Regions from separate parts of the Homo sapiens genome. Here region 2 is linked to region 1. The links are contacts of gene promoters, found by promoter capture Hi-C in blood cells and fetal thymus (Javierre and others, 2016). All regions are on one chromosome and are shown on one strand. The core of a region is centred on a gene start or on the middle of the fragment in contact, and the rest is flanking DNA. Distances in the headings are between cores, read along the strand shown.

What was found. The method cuts DNA at HindIII sites, captures the fragments that hold promoters and counts their contacts. A CHiCAGO score of 5 or more calls a contact.
Region 2: a fragment that was not itself captured here is called in contact with the fragment with the promoter of CLSPN-AS1 in region 1 in 7 of 17 cell types (M1 macrophages, endothelial precursors, naive CD4 T cells and 4 more); the score reaches 5.6 in M1 macrophages.

Annotation. Positions count from the first base shown.
Region 1 is chr1:35,737,603-35,743,733 of GRCh38, reverse strand. CLSPN-AS1 (CLSPN antisense RNA 1) reads right to left here and starts at 4,289. Exons shown (of 2, transcript NR_199043.1): 1 at 4,221-4,289; 2 at 158-571. It overlaps CLSPN (claspin), which reads left to right. Exons shown (of 25, transcript NM_022111.4): 17 at 204-279; 18 at 493-593; 19 at 4,205-4,369; 20 at 4,477-4,598; 21 at 5,152-5,279; 22 at 5,637-5,742. RefSeq lists enhancers at 3,996-5,195, 4,939-5,440. The HindIII fragment of the contact is 7,776 bases long and covers 1-5,846 here.
Region 2 is chr1:35,472,521-35,478,651 of GRCh38, reverse strand. It overlaps KIAA0319L (KIAA0319 like), which reads left to right. Exons shown (of 21, transcript NM_024874.5): 5 at 3,746-3,847. Among named protein-coding and RNA genes, the nearest start is that of KIAA0319L, 82 kb to the left of the region's middle. The HindIII fragment of the contact is 2,916 bases long and covers 2,109-5,024 here.

The DNA.
Region 1 (6,131 bases), core at 3,040-5,539:
GAGGATCACTTGAGCCCTGGAGGTGGAGGTTACAGTGAGCTGAGATGGTGCCACTGTATTCCAGGTGGTGTAAGAGACCAAGACTGTCTCAGAGAAAAAAAAAAAATTAACACACACAAAATTTTTTTTAATTCATAACTTGGCTGACTACTTGTAGTTTGCTTTCAACAACTTATTTATTGATTCATTGATTTACATTTTAGGGAAGAGGAAGACGAGGAGGAGGAATTTGGAGACTTTCGGCTTGTTTCAAATGATAATGAGTTTGATAGTGATGAGGTGAGTATGAAGGGAACAAAGTAATCATAACTGAGCTCCATGTATTGCTGCCCTCAAGTGTTTTTTTCCCCTCAGTTCTTGAGAATTCTAAGTTTGGCATCTTATCAGAAACAATTTCCTAGAATGAGGTATTTGGGCAGATGTTTATAAATCCTTTTTTCATTGAGGACGCATTTTATTCTGCTTAATTTGGATATGATGCTGATTTTGTAGGATGAACACAGTGACTCTGGTAATGATCTGGCACTGGAAGACCATGAAGATGATGATGAAGAAGAACTCCTGAAGCGATCTGAGAAGTTGAAAAGGCAAATGTACGTGTTATTAATATGTCCATTCCTTCAGGTGTATTTAAAATTTGGTCACTAGGCCAGGCATGGTGGCTTGCGCCTGTAATCCCATCATTTTGGGAGGCTGAAGCAGGCGGATCACCTGAGGTCAGGAGTTCAAGACCAGCCTGGTCTTGGTGACACAGGTCAAGAGATCGAGACCATCCTGACAAACATGGTGAAACCCTGTCTCTACTAAAAAATATAAAAATTAGCCAGATGTGATGACAGGTGCCTGTAGTCCCAGCTACTCAGGAAGCTGAGGCAGGGAGAATCGCTTGCACCCAGGAGGTGGAGGTTGCAGTGAGCCGAGATCGCACCACTGCATTTCAGCCTGGGTGACAGAGCGAGACTCTGTCTCAAAAAAAAAAAAAAAAAAAAAGTTGATCACTTAATATGTCCTGTGTGCTAATAACTGTGCTTTACAGGCATTAACATATTATCTTATGCCAGGCACAGTGGCTCACGCCTGTAATCCCAGCACTTTGGGAGGCCAAGGCAGGCATATTACTTGAGGTCAGGAGTTTGAGACCAGCGTGACCAACATGGTGAAACCCTCTCTACTAAAAATACAAAATACAAAATAAAATACAAAAATTAGCCAGGCATGGTTCTGGGCGCCTGTAGTGCCAGCTACTTGGGAGGCTGAGGCAGGAGAATTGCTTGAATATGGGAGGCGGAGGTTGCAGTGAGCCAAGATTGCCCCACTGCACTCCAGCCTGGGTGATAGAGCAAGACTCCATCTCAAAAAAATTATCTTATGAGTGGGTACTATTATTCTCCTCATTTTACAGTTGAAGGAACTGAGCCTCAGAAAGATTAAATTTACCCAAGATCACATAGCTAGAAGGCAGCAGAGGCTGGATTCAACTTAGATTAGGTGAAATCTCCCCTAACAGTCAGTTAATAGTTTGCCACTTTTTAACTTAAATCCTCCTGCCTCAGCTTCCCAAGTAGCTGGGACAACAGGCATGTGCCACCACACCTGGCTAATTCTTTCTATTTTTTGTAGAGATGGGGCCTTGCTTTGTTCCCAGGCTGGTCTTAAACTGTTGGCCTCAAGTGATCCTCCTGCCTCTGCTTCCCAAAGTCTGGGATTACAGGCATGAGCCACCAGGCCCAGCTTTTTTTTTTTTTTTTTTTTTTTTTTTTGAGACGGAGTCTCGCTCTGTCGCCCAGGCTGGAGGGCAGTGGCATGATCTCGGCTCACTGCAACCTCCGCCTCCCGGGTTCAAAGCGATTCTCCTGCTTCAGCCTCCTGAGTAGCTGGGAATATAGGCACGTGCCACCACACCCAGCTAATTTTTGTATATTTAGTAGAGACGGGGTTTCACCATGTTGGTCAGGATGGTCTCGATCTCTTGACCTCACGATCCACCCGCCTTGGCCTTCCAACATGCTGGGATTACAGGCGTGAGCCACCCCACCTGGCCGGCCCAACTCATTTTTTTGATATGCTGTTCTGGTCATGAAAGTAAAATATTTATTTTAGGATATTTAAAAGAATACAAACTGGGTGCAGTGGCCCACGCCTATAATCTCAGCACTTTGGGAAGCTGAGGCGGGTGGATCACCTGAGGTCAGGAGTTCGAGACCAGCCTGGCCAACATGGCGAGACCCCGTCTCTACTAAAAATACAAAATTAGCCAAGCGTGATGGCCAGTGCCTGTAATCCCAGCTACTCAGGAGGCAAAGCTGGAGAATCGCTTGAACCGGGAGGTGGAGGGTGCAGTGAGCTGAGATTGTGCCATTGCATTCCAGCCTGGGCGACGAGAGAAACTCCATTCTCCCCGACCCCCGCAAAAAAAGAATACAGAAAGATATAAATAAAAACTTATCCATGTCCACCATCCAGGATATAAATGAAAGTTAGTTTGTTCCCCTTAATCTTTTTTATGCATATATTTTTATATAGTTGAGATTTGTACAATCTTTCTATATGTATAATTTTGCATCTTTTTTTTTCTACTTAGCATATCCAGAAACATTTTCCTATGATGTTAAAAAAAGTTTTATAAAGATAATTCTAATAGGTATTTAATATTATATTGTATGTGAATGATTTGGAATTCACATATAGGACATCATATTGATCCCTATTAGATTTATATGGTTGCTTTTATCCCATCATTTCATTCTATTAAGATTCACTTTGGGTTCTAATTTATCACCTATCAAATTAACTCTCATACAGCTTTAGGTTATCCATAGATTTTTCTAAGGTAGTGGTTCTTCTCTGCAGAGCTCTTTGTTCAAATAAAATCTTTTAAAGAATGACAGATAAAAGTTGAACTGTTCAAAGATGGTAAGTGGGAAGTTTGGGAAACTTAGTGACTAGTGGCCTCTGAAGGAATTTTCCAGGAACTCTAGGATTTAGAACAACTTAGCTTTAAGAAAATACAGTATAGGCTGGGCGTGGTGGCTCATGCCTGTAATCCCAGCACTTTGGGAGGCTGAGATGGACAGATCCCCTGAGGTCAGGAGTTCAAGACCACCCTGGCCAACATGGTGAAACCCTATCTCTACTAAAAAAACAAAAATTAGCCAGGCATGGTGGCACGCACCTGTAATCCCAGCTACTCGGGAGGTTGAGGCATGAGAATCACTTGAACCCAGGAGGTGGAGGTTGCAGTGAGCCGAGATGGCATCTCTGCACTCCAGCCTAGGCGACAGAGCGACACTTCATCTCAAAAAAAAAAAAAAAGAGAAAATACAGTATAGGTCTTCGATAAAAATCAGTTTTCAGAAAGCCACCAAACTTCTGCCATTTTGGACCACATGGGACCAAGGTGACTTTGAATCCAGGGTGACACCAGATTTATTCTCCGGGGGAGCTGAAGTCATAAGAAGTAACTAGTCGTTTTGATTACCAGGAGCTCTGAGCCTTAGTCTTCCTTCTGATGTGGGGGTCAAGATTTGTTAGGCTGTAAGAAGATCCCAGTTTATTACCTTTCTACACCACACCATCTCTAGTTTGTCTCTTAAAGCTGGTGTGCTCAAATGCAAAATGAAATAGTTTGAACCTTCCAGCAGGTATTCTAATACATGTAAAAGAGATTAAGAGTTTTCTGGCTTTCAAATCACCCAATCTAAGTTGAATCCAGGCTCTGCTACCTTCTAGCTATGTGACCTTGGGTAAATGTAATCTTTCTGAGGCTCAATTCCCTCAACTGTAAAATGAAGAGAATAATAGTACCCATTCCTATGATAATATGTTAATGCCTGTAAAGCACAGTTATTAGCACACAAGACATATTAAGTGATCAACTTTTAAATACAGATGCTCCACATCTTACAATGGGACTATATCCTGATCAATCCATCATAAGTTGAAAATGCACTTTCATATTATCCAGATATAACTCCATCGTAAATCGAGAAGCATACTAAGTGCGTATCACATTCATGTCATCGTAAAGTTGAAAAATCATTAAGTCAAACCATCATAAGTGGAGACTATTACAAAAAAATTTAAATATTATCAAATGTATTATGTTTATTATTATTAGAAGTGACTCTGTTCTGCTTTTCTTTGCTTCCATATTCTGTGAGTATATTCATTGTTGCATTTTCTAATCCTCAAAATTGCTTTCTAGGAGGTTGAGGAAATACCTGGAGGATGAGGCAGAGGTGTCAGGAAGTGATGTGGGAAGCGAAGATGAGTATGATGGGGAAGAAATTGATGAATATGAAGAGGACGTAATTGATGAAGTACTTCCTTCTGATGAGGAACTGCAGAGTCAAATCAAGAAAATACACATGTCAGTATCCCAATAAGCCCTTCTGAGTAATAGGGTACATCTTAAGACAAGCCCTGTAACCAGCCAGAATGGTCCTTGTTTTGAACACCTTATTTCTCCTGTTGCAGGAAAACTATGTTGGATGATGATAAGCGACAGCTACGTTTATACCAAGAGAGGTACCTTGCTGATGGGGATCTGCACAGCGATGGTCCTGGGCGAATGAGGAAGTTTCGATGGAAAAACATAGGTATCTTGGTTGTTGTCTTTAAAAGCAATCAGTTACGGGCTGAGCATGGTGGCTCACGCCTGTAATCCCAACACTTTGGGAGGCAGAGGCAGGTGGATCACAAGGTCAGGAGTTCAGGACCAGCCTGAACAACATGGTGAAACCCCGTCCCTACTAAAAGTTCAAAAATTAGCAGGCTGTGATGGCACGCGCCTGTAATCCCAGCTACTCAGGAGGCTGAGGCAGGAGAATTGCGTGAACCCGGGAGACGGAGGTTGCAGTGAGCAGAGATCATGCCATTGCACTCCAGCCTGGGCGACAGAGCGAGACTCCATCTCAAAAAAAAAAAAAAAAAAGCAAACAGTTACAATGCATATTTGTCGAGTTTCAGATGGCAAATGGCAAGCAAAACTATAACAGGCTATGTGAAGACCTAGTTGTAACTGTTTTCTGTTAATGGATGGGAAAAGTTTACATCATTATATAGTAAATGATAAGGGTTTATTTTTTGTCTGTCCAAGCACCCTCTCCTGTGAGGACTGCCGAATGCTGATTACCTTCACTCTTTGTTTAGATGATGCTTCCCAGATGGACTTGTTCCACAGAGACTCTGATGATGATCAGACTGAAGAACAGCTTGATGAGTCAGAAGCCAGGTGGAGGAAGGAGCGAATTGAACGAGAGCAGTGGCTTCGGGACATGGTAGGAGTTCACCTACTCTGACCCTAGTTTATGAGACTGTCCCTTAGCTTGTCATGATAGTTTCAAAATCTTAGCTTGTCATGATAGTTTCAAAATCTTAGGCAACATATTGCTATCTCTTTTAATCCTTGAGCTATCTTTTGTGTTTTGAGAAGGCTATACCATAGACAGTTCTCTTCATGTTTGTCTAAGATTAATTTTTTTTTGTCTAAAGCAGCAAAGGCTGCAAAAAGGAAAACAAATACCCCAGGAACTCTAGTTTCACAATCCAGGCCATGCTAACTATTTAGGAAGGTTATAGACTTTTAATGCTGTATATATATATATATATATATATATATTTTTTTTTTTTTTCAGGCACAGCAGGGGAAAATTACAGCTGAAGAAGAAGAAGAAATTGGGGAGGACAGTCAGTTTATGATACTGGCCAAGAAAGTTACAGCCAAAGCACTGCAGAAGAATGGTGAGCTCTTGTTTCTCCTTAGGGTCTAGCCCCCTGGATTGTTAGTGGTAGAGCTTTGGAGGTGACTCTAACCTTCAGGAGCTGTTGCAGCTTAATCATAAGCTTGTGTCTAATACTGTCTTAAAGAGGCTTCACAGAGGTGGTGGGAGACAGTGTACTTAGATCTTAGACTATTGGGCAGTAGAGACTGTATTCATGAGTATATGTGGCTGGTTTTACTTTATGTTCTAAGGCTCAGAGTAGTTAATTCTGGCTTTCTCTAGTTGCCCAGGATTGTATACCTAAGTGTTAGAGGTAGGATTTGAATCCAGGAATATTTAACTCCAGAAATGAAGCTCTTCACTATTCCCTACACTGACCACTTCTGTTTTTCTTAAATGATTACTGTT
Region 2 (6,131 bases), core at 2,317-4,816, 260 kb after region 1:
GTATTTGCTTACCTTCTGAAAGTCTGGTTGTAGGTCTCTCATTTTTATAGCATCTTTATTTTAATTTTTATTTATTTTTAAAACTTTTAATTTTTGTGGATATATAGTAGTTGTATACATTTATGGCATACATGAGATACTTTGATGCAGACATGCAATGTGTAATAATCACATCATGTAAAATAGAGTATCCATCCCTTCAAGCCTTTATCCTTTGTGTTACAAACAATCCAGTTATATTATTTTAGTTATTTTAAAATGTGCAATTAAAATATTATTGACTATAGTCACCCTGTTGTGCTATCAAATACTAGGTCTTATTTGTTCTTTCTAGCTTTTTTTTTTGTACTCATTAACCATCCCCCCCTCCCTCTTACCCCCACACTACCCTTCGCAGCCTCTGGTAACCATCCATCTATCTAACCATTACTCTCTATCTCCATGAGTTCAGTTGTTTTGATTTTTAGATTCCACAAATAAGTGAGAACAAGCAGTGTTTGTCTGTGCCTGGCTTATTCACCTAACATAATGACCTCCAGTTCCATCCATGTTGTTGGAAATGACAAAATTTCATTCTTTTTTATGGCTGAGTAGTACTCCATTGTATATAAGCACCACATTTTCTTTATTCATTCATCTGTTGATGGACACTTAGGTTGCTTCCAAAGTTTGGCTGTTGTGAACAGTGCTGCAAACATGGGAGTGCAGATACCTCTTCGATACACTGATTTCCTTTCTTTTGGGTATAGACCCAGCAGTGGGATTATTGAGTCACATGGTAACTCTATTTTTATTTTTTTGAGGAACCTCCAAACTGTTCTCCATAGTGGTTGTACTAATTTACATTCCCACCAATAGTGTACGAGGGTTCCCCTTTTCTCCACATCCTCACCAGCATTTGTTATTGCCTGTCTTTTGTATAAAAACCATTTTAACTGGGGTGAGATGATATCTCACTGTAGGTTTTTTTTTTTTTTTTTTTTTTGAGACAGAGTCTCACTCTGTTGCCCAGGCTGGAGTGCAGTGGCGCAATCTCGGCTCACTGCAAGCTGCGCCTCCTGGGTTCATGCCATTCTCCTGCCTCAGCCTCCCGAGTAGCTGGGACTACAGGCGCCCACCACCACGCCCAGCTAATTTTTTGTATTTTTAGTAGAGATGCGGTTTCACCGTGTTAGCCAGGATGGTCTCGATCTCCTGACCTTGTGATCCGTCCGCCTTGGCCTCCCAAAGTGCTGGGATTACAGGCGTGAGCCACCGCGCCCGGCCATCTCATTGTAGTTTTTATTTGCATTTCTCTGATGATCAGTGATGTCGAGAACCTTTTCATATGCCTGTTTGCCATTTGTAGGTCTTCTTTTGAGAAATCCCTGTTCAAATATTTTGCCCATTTTTAAATGGGATTATTAAATTTTTTCCTGTGGAGTTGTTTGAACTCTTTATATATTCTGGTTATTAATCCCTTGTCAAATGGGGAGTTTGCAGATATTTTCTCCCATTCTGTGGGTTGTCTCTTCACTTTGTTGATTGTTTCCTTTGCTGTGCAGTAGCTTTTTAATTTGATGTTATCCCGTTTGTCCATTTTCGCTTTGGTTGCCTGTCCTTGTGGGGTATTACTCAAGAATTTTTTTTTTGCTCAGACCAGTGTCCTGGAGAAGCATCTTTATTTTTAAAGCCATTCATAAGAAGTAGATTTATACATAGTGTATAAATAAATCTGTGCTTCACAGGTGCTGTTCTAAGGTATTAGGAAGAATTGGTTAATCAAGAAACTAAGTTGGTCTTTATCCCCTGAAAAAGTCAAGAGGGTAAAAGCAAAGTCAGTGATAATGAATTTTTGCCAATTTTTAATTTTTCAGGGTGTCCTTTGGTAGTAATAGAACATGAAATTTTAGGGGTTCAATCATGAGGCACCAAAGTAATTTTTGTATCCAGTCAAGATGCCTGTAATTTTTGGTGTAATTGTGAAGGGTTTGGGTTGAACTGTTTTGAATAGCCATTTTTTGGTTCATTATACTTTCTCTGAGTATCATGTTTCTTTCTTTTCTTTTTTTGAAAGTCACTTCAGAGAGTTCTTATTCCATCTCCTGGGGCATCCAAATGCTGAAGCTTCCATTAAGGATGGTTTCATTTCTCCTCAAGTGCAATGTTCCCATGCAGAGGCGGATAAATCTCAAGTTTCATATTTGTCTAGGAAGCCCTTCTCGCCTCCCAGGCTTGAAATATGAGTGGACTAGCCTATTGTTTGCTTTAAGCTCTCCTAGTTTTGAAGTCTCATAGCAAATGAACATTTATTGTCAGAGAAATAAGATTTATATAATCGGTGGCTTTCAGTGGTCTGCAAACATTTTTAGTTGGGGGAGGGGAGTGATGCTACTGACGTCTGGTGAGTATGGGTCAGTGATACTGTTAAACACCTTACAGTGCTCAGGACATTTCCCTCCATGACAAAGAATTACCTGGTCCAAAATATCAGGAGTGCTGAGCTTGAGAAACTCTGACATATGTGAAATAGCTGGTGAATAGTATAAAGACAGTATATAGCTCTTTGCTGACTTGAGTGTTCCAAAAATGCTAGCATACTTCAAGATTAGATCAGTTTGAACTGAAATGGTCTGGGAAGATTTCTTGGAGAGGAGACAGACTTTAAGCTAGAAACAAAATGCTGTATTTAGAATAAAGCAAGGCAAACACCGCAGTTGAAAGAAATAACTTTAGCAAAGTCCCTGAGAGTAGACCGTGGCTTTGTGGAACACAAGAGGGAAAATCAATGTAACTAGAGGCAAAATTAGATAGGAAGGATAAGACAGTGAGATCAGATGATGGTTCTCTAATGGCAGGTTGGAAGTTTGTCCTTAAATATGATATGGGAGCAGGAGTCTTAAATAGAAGAGTAACATAGTGGGTGAGTATTTTGGAAAGACTAATGGTGTTGGTTGTTTTAGGAAGACAGAATAGATTGGAGTAGAGAGAGCTAGCAGAGGGAAGATAAAATAAGATTCTTGGGATAAGCAAGCTGGGCGTGGTGGTGCATGCCTGTAGTCCCAGCTACTTGGGAGGTTGAGGTGGGAAGATCGCTTGAGCCCAGGAATTTGAGGCTGCAGTGAGCTATGATTACACAACTGCACTCTATCCTGAGCAACAGAGTGAGGCCCTGACTCAAAAAGAAAAAAAAAATTCTTGGAATAATCTAGTGTGAACAATGAATCTTGTAGCAATTGGAATGGAAAGAAAGTAAGGCAGATTTGTAACCATTTGCCTTCCCTTCTAGAAACTTTATATATGTATCTTATTAGAAAGTTATTTGTTAGCATAAAGGTGATACTTGAAACAGGATTTGAACTCTGTGGAATGTAGTATATAGGGAGGGCTTAGGGACAGACTGTAGTAAAAATACAGTGGAGGAAAAGAGAGAAAGGAGGAAAAATAGAATAATATGGTGTCATGATATCCAAGAGTTTTAAGATGGAGGCAGTTAGCAATAGTAGAAGCCACTGAGATGTGAGATGAAGAATGAGGGTATTAGGGTACAGCTGTTAGATTTACTAAGAAGTAGTTTTGAAAGATCCTTTTCAATGGAAAAGTGGGGACAGAATCAAATTTCAAGCAATTAGAGAGTAGAAAAAAGTTAGTAATTGATGGCAGTAGCTGAATATTGATCATGAAAGGAGTTTGATCACAAAAGAAAGAGAGAAATAAGACAGTCTGGATCTATTTCTTATCTCTGGTATATTTACTTTGTTTCCAGTTATAAAGGAACTGGTGGTATCTGCTGGAGAGAGTGTCCAGATAACCCTGCCTAAGAATGAAGTTCAATTAAATGCATATGTTCTCCAAGAACCACCTAAAGGTAAACATCCCCTTACATTTGGATAACCGTTTTTTGTTTTTGAAAGAGATGGAGTCTTGCTGTGTTGTCCAGGCTGGTCTCAAACTCCTGGGCTCAGGAGATCCTCCCACCTTAGTCTTCCTAGTAGCTGGAACTACTGGCATACACTACCACTCCTGGCCCTTATCTTTTTCCCTCCTCTGACTTCCTGTCAGGAAAAAATGTATTTTTTTTAAGTTACAAATTTATATTAGCAGTCATCTTGAATAACTTCTTTCTAAGTTCTACATCTGCTATTTACTGGTTGTTTGACCAAAATAAACAGATTAATCTGAGTCTCAGTTTCTTTCTCTTAAAATGGATTTAAATACAACCTAATAAATATGTTCTATATTAATAAGCATCAGCTATATGCTAGGCACTAAACTGGTAACTTATCTACTATCTCATTTTGCCCTTAAAGTAATCTTATGAGGTAGGAATTATTATCCCCATTTTATTGAGAAAGAAATGGAAATTAAGAGAAGTCATTTACTTAGATTCACACAGATAATGAGTGGCTCAGCTGAGATTTGAACCCAAGCGTGACATCAAAGCCTGTGATCTCAAACCCTACATTATATAGTACCTCTCATATTCCATAAATATTTGTGCATACCCGGGTTATATCCTATCCTCACAGGACCGTTGTAAGGACCATCGTTTCCCATAGTGAGAACCCTGTCCCTGGGGGAAAAAAAAGCTAAGCCTAATGTGATATACAAAATTCAAGTTTATAAAATATATAAAGTATGGATGATTAATTCATTATTTAAGAAAACTTTTGTAATATGAACATTACTTTCACCTTTGAAGTATGTGTTAATATACCAAAGTTTGACTTACAAACACATATGGGTTCTCTTAACACTATTTAGGACTTGAGTGGTACATACTTTGATGGAAATTGAGCCAGTTGGGTTTATGTTATCATTAAAAGGTTAGTCAAGTAGAATGTCCTTCCCTATTTAGGATGGGGTCCTTCCATTTTAGGTACACACATCTCCAATACAGTATTCTTAATTTCTAGGCCTAATACCAAATAGCATATTAATGCAAAAAGTACTTTTCCAGAAGCAAAATGCCCTGTCTGTTCTATATTTCTGCTCTCAAATCGAGGTTTCCTTATCAATTCATTTCACATTCCTCTAGAGAAGCTTTTTCCTTTCTTCCTCTGGTGACAAGTTAAGGTGATTGGGTTTAGTGGCTTTTGAAGTTGGAGGTGAGGGACTGCCTTGAGCTGTTGATTACTACCATTCTTTTGTGAAAGACATGTTTGGCTCTACTGTATTTTCTTTCCTAACCCATATTTGCATGTACCTTTCTGTGGGTTACTATCATTTTGTAGATCAGTGTTTCAAAACATGTTAGTTTAGAAATAGATTCTTTGGCCAGGCACGGTGGCTCACACTTGTAATCCTGGTACTTTGGGAGGCTGAGGTGGGTGAATCACCTTAGGTCAGGAGTTCAAGACCAGCCTGGCCAACGTGGCGAAACCCCATCTCTACCAAAAATACAAAAAAATTAGCTGGGTGTGGTGGTGGGCACCTGTAATCCCAGCTACTTGAGAGGCTGAGACAGGAGAATCGCTTGAACCCAGGAGGCGGATGTTGCAGTCAGCCAAGATTGTGCCATTGCACTCCAGCCTGGGTGACAGAGCAAGACTCTGTCTCAAAAAAAAAGAAAAAAAAAAAAAAAAAAAAAAAGGCTGGGCGCAGTGGCTCATGCCTGTAATCCCAGCACTTTGGGAGGCTGAGGCGGGCAGATCACCTGAGGTCAGGAGTTCAAGACCAGCCTGGCCAGCATGGTGAAACCCCATCTCTACTAAAAGTAAGCCAGGCGTGATGGTGGGCGCCTGTAATCCCAGCCACTGGGGAGGTTGAGGCTTGAGAATTGCTTGAACCCAGGAGGCGGAGGTTGCAGTGAGCCAAGATTATGCCACTGCACTCCAGCCTGGGTGGCAGAGAGAGACTCCATCTCATTAAAAAAAAAAAAAAAAAGGGAAATAGATTATTTTCTCCTGTCCTCTCTCCAGGTTCTTCCACCTTTATTAGATATGTGAGATGGATGGTTTCAAACTTCCAAAGGTTGGGGGTGATGAGGCAGGACCAATTCTGCATGCTCTTTATCCTTCTCCTGCCCTATGGCAGCCCATTAGGATCCCTCCAGGTCCATTTTCAAAACCACTGTCCGGCTGGGCGTGGTGGCTCATGCCTGTAATCCTAGCACTTTGGGAGGCTGAGGCAGGCAGATCCTGACTTGAGGT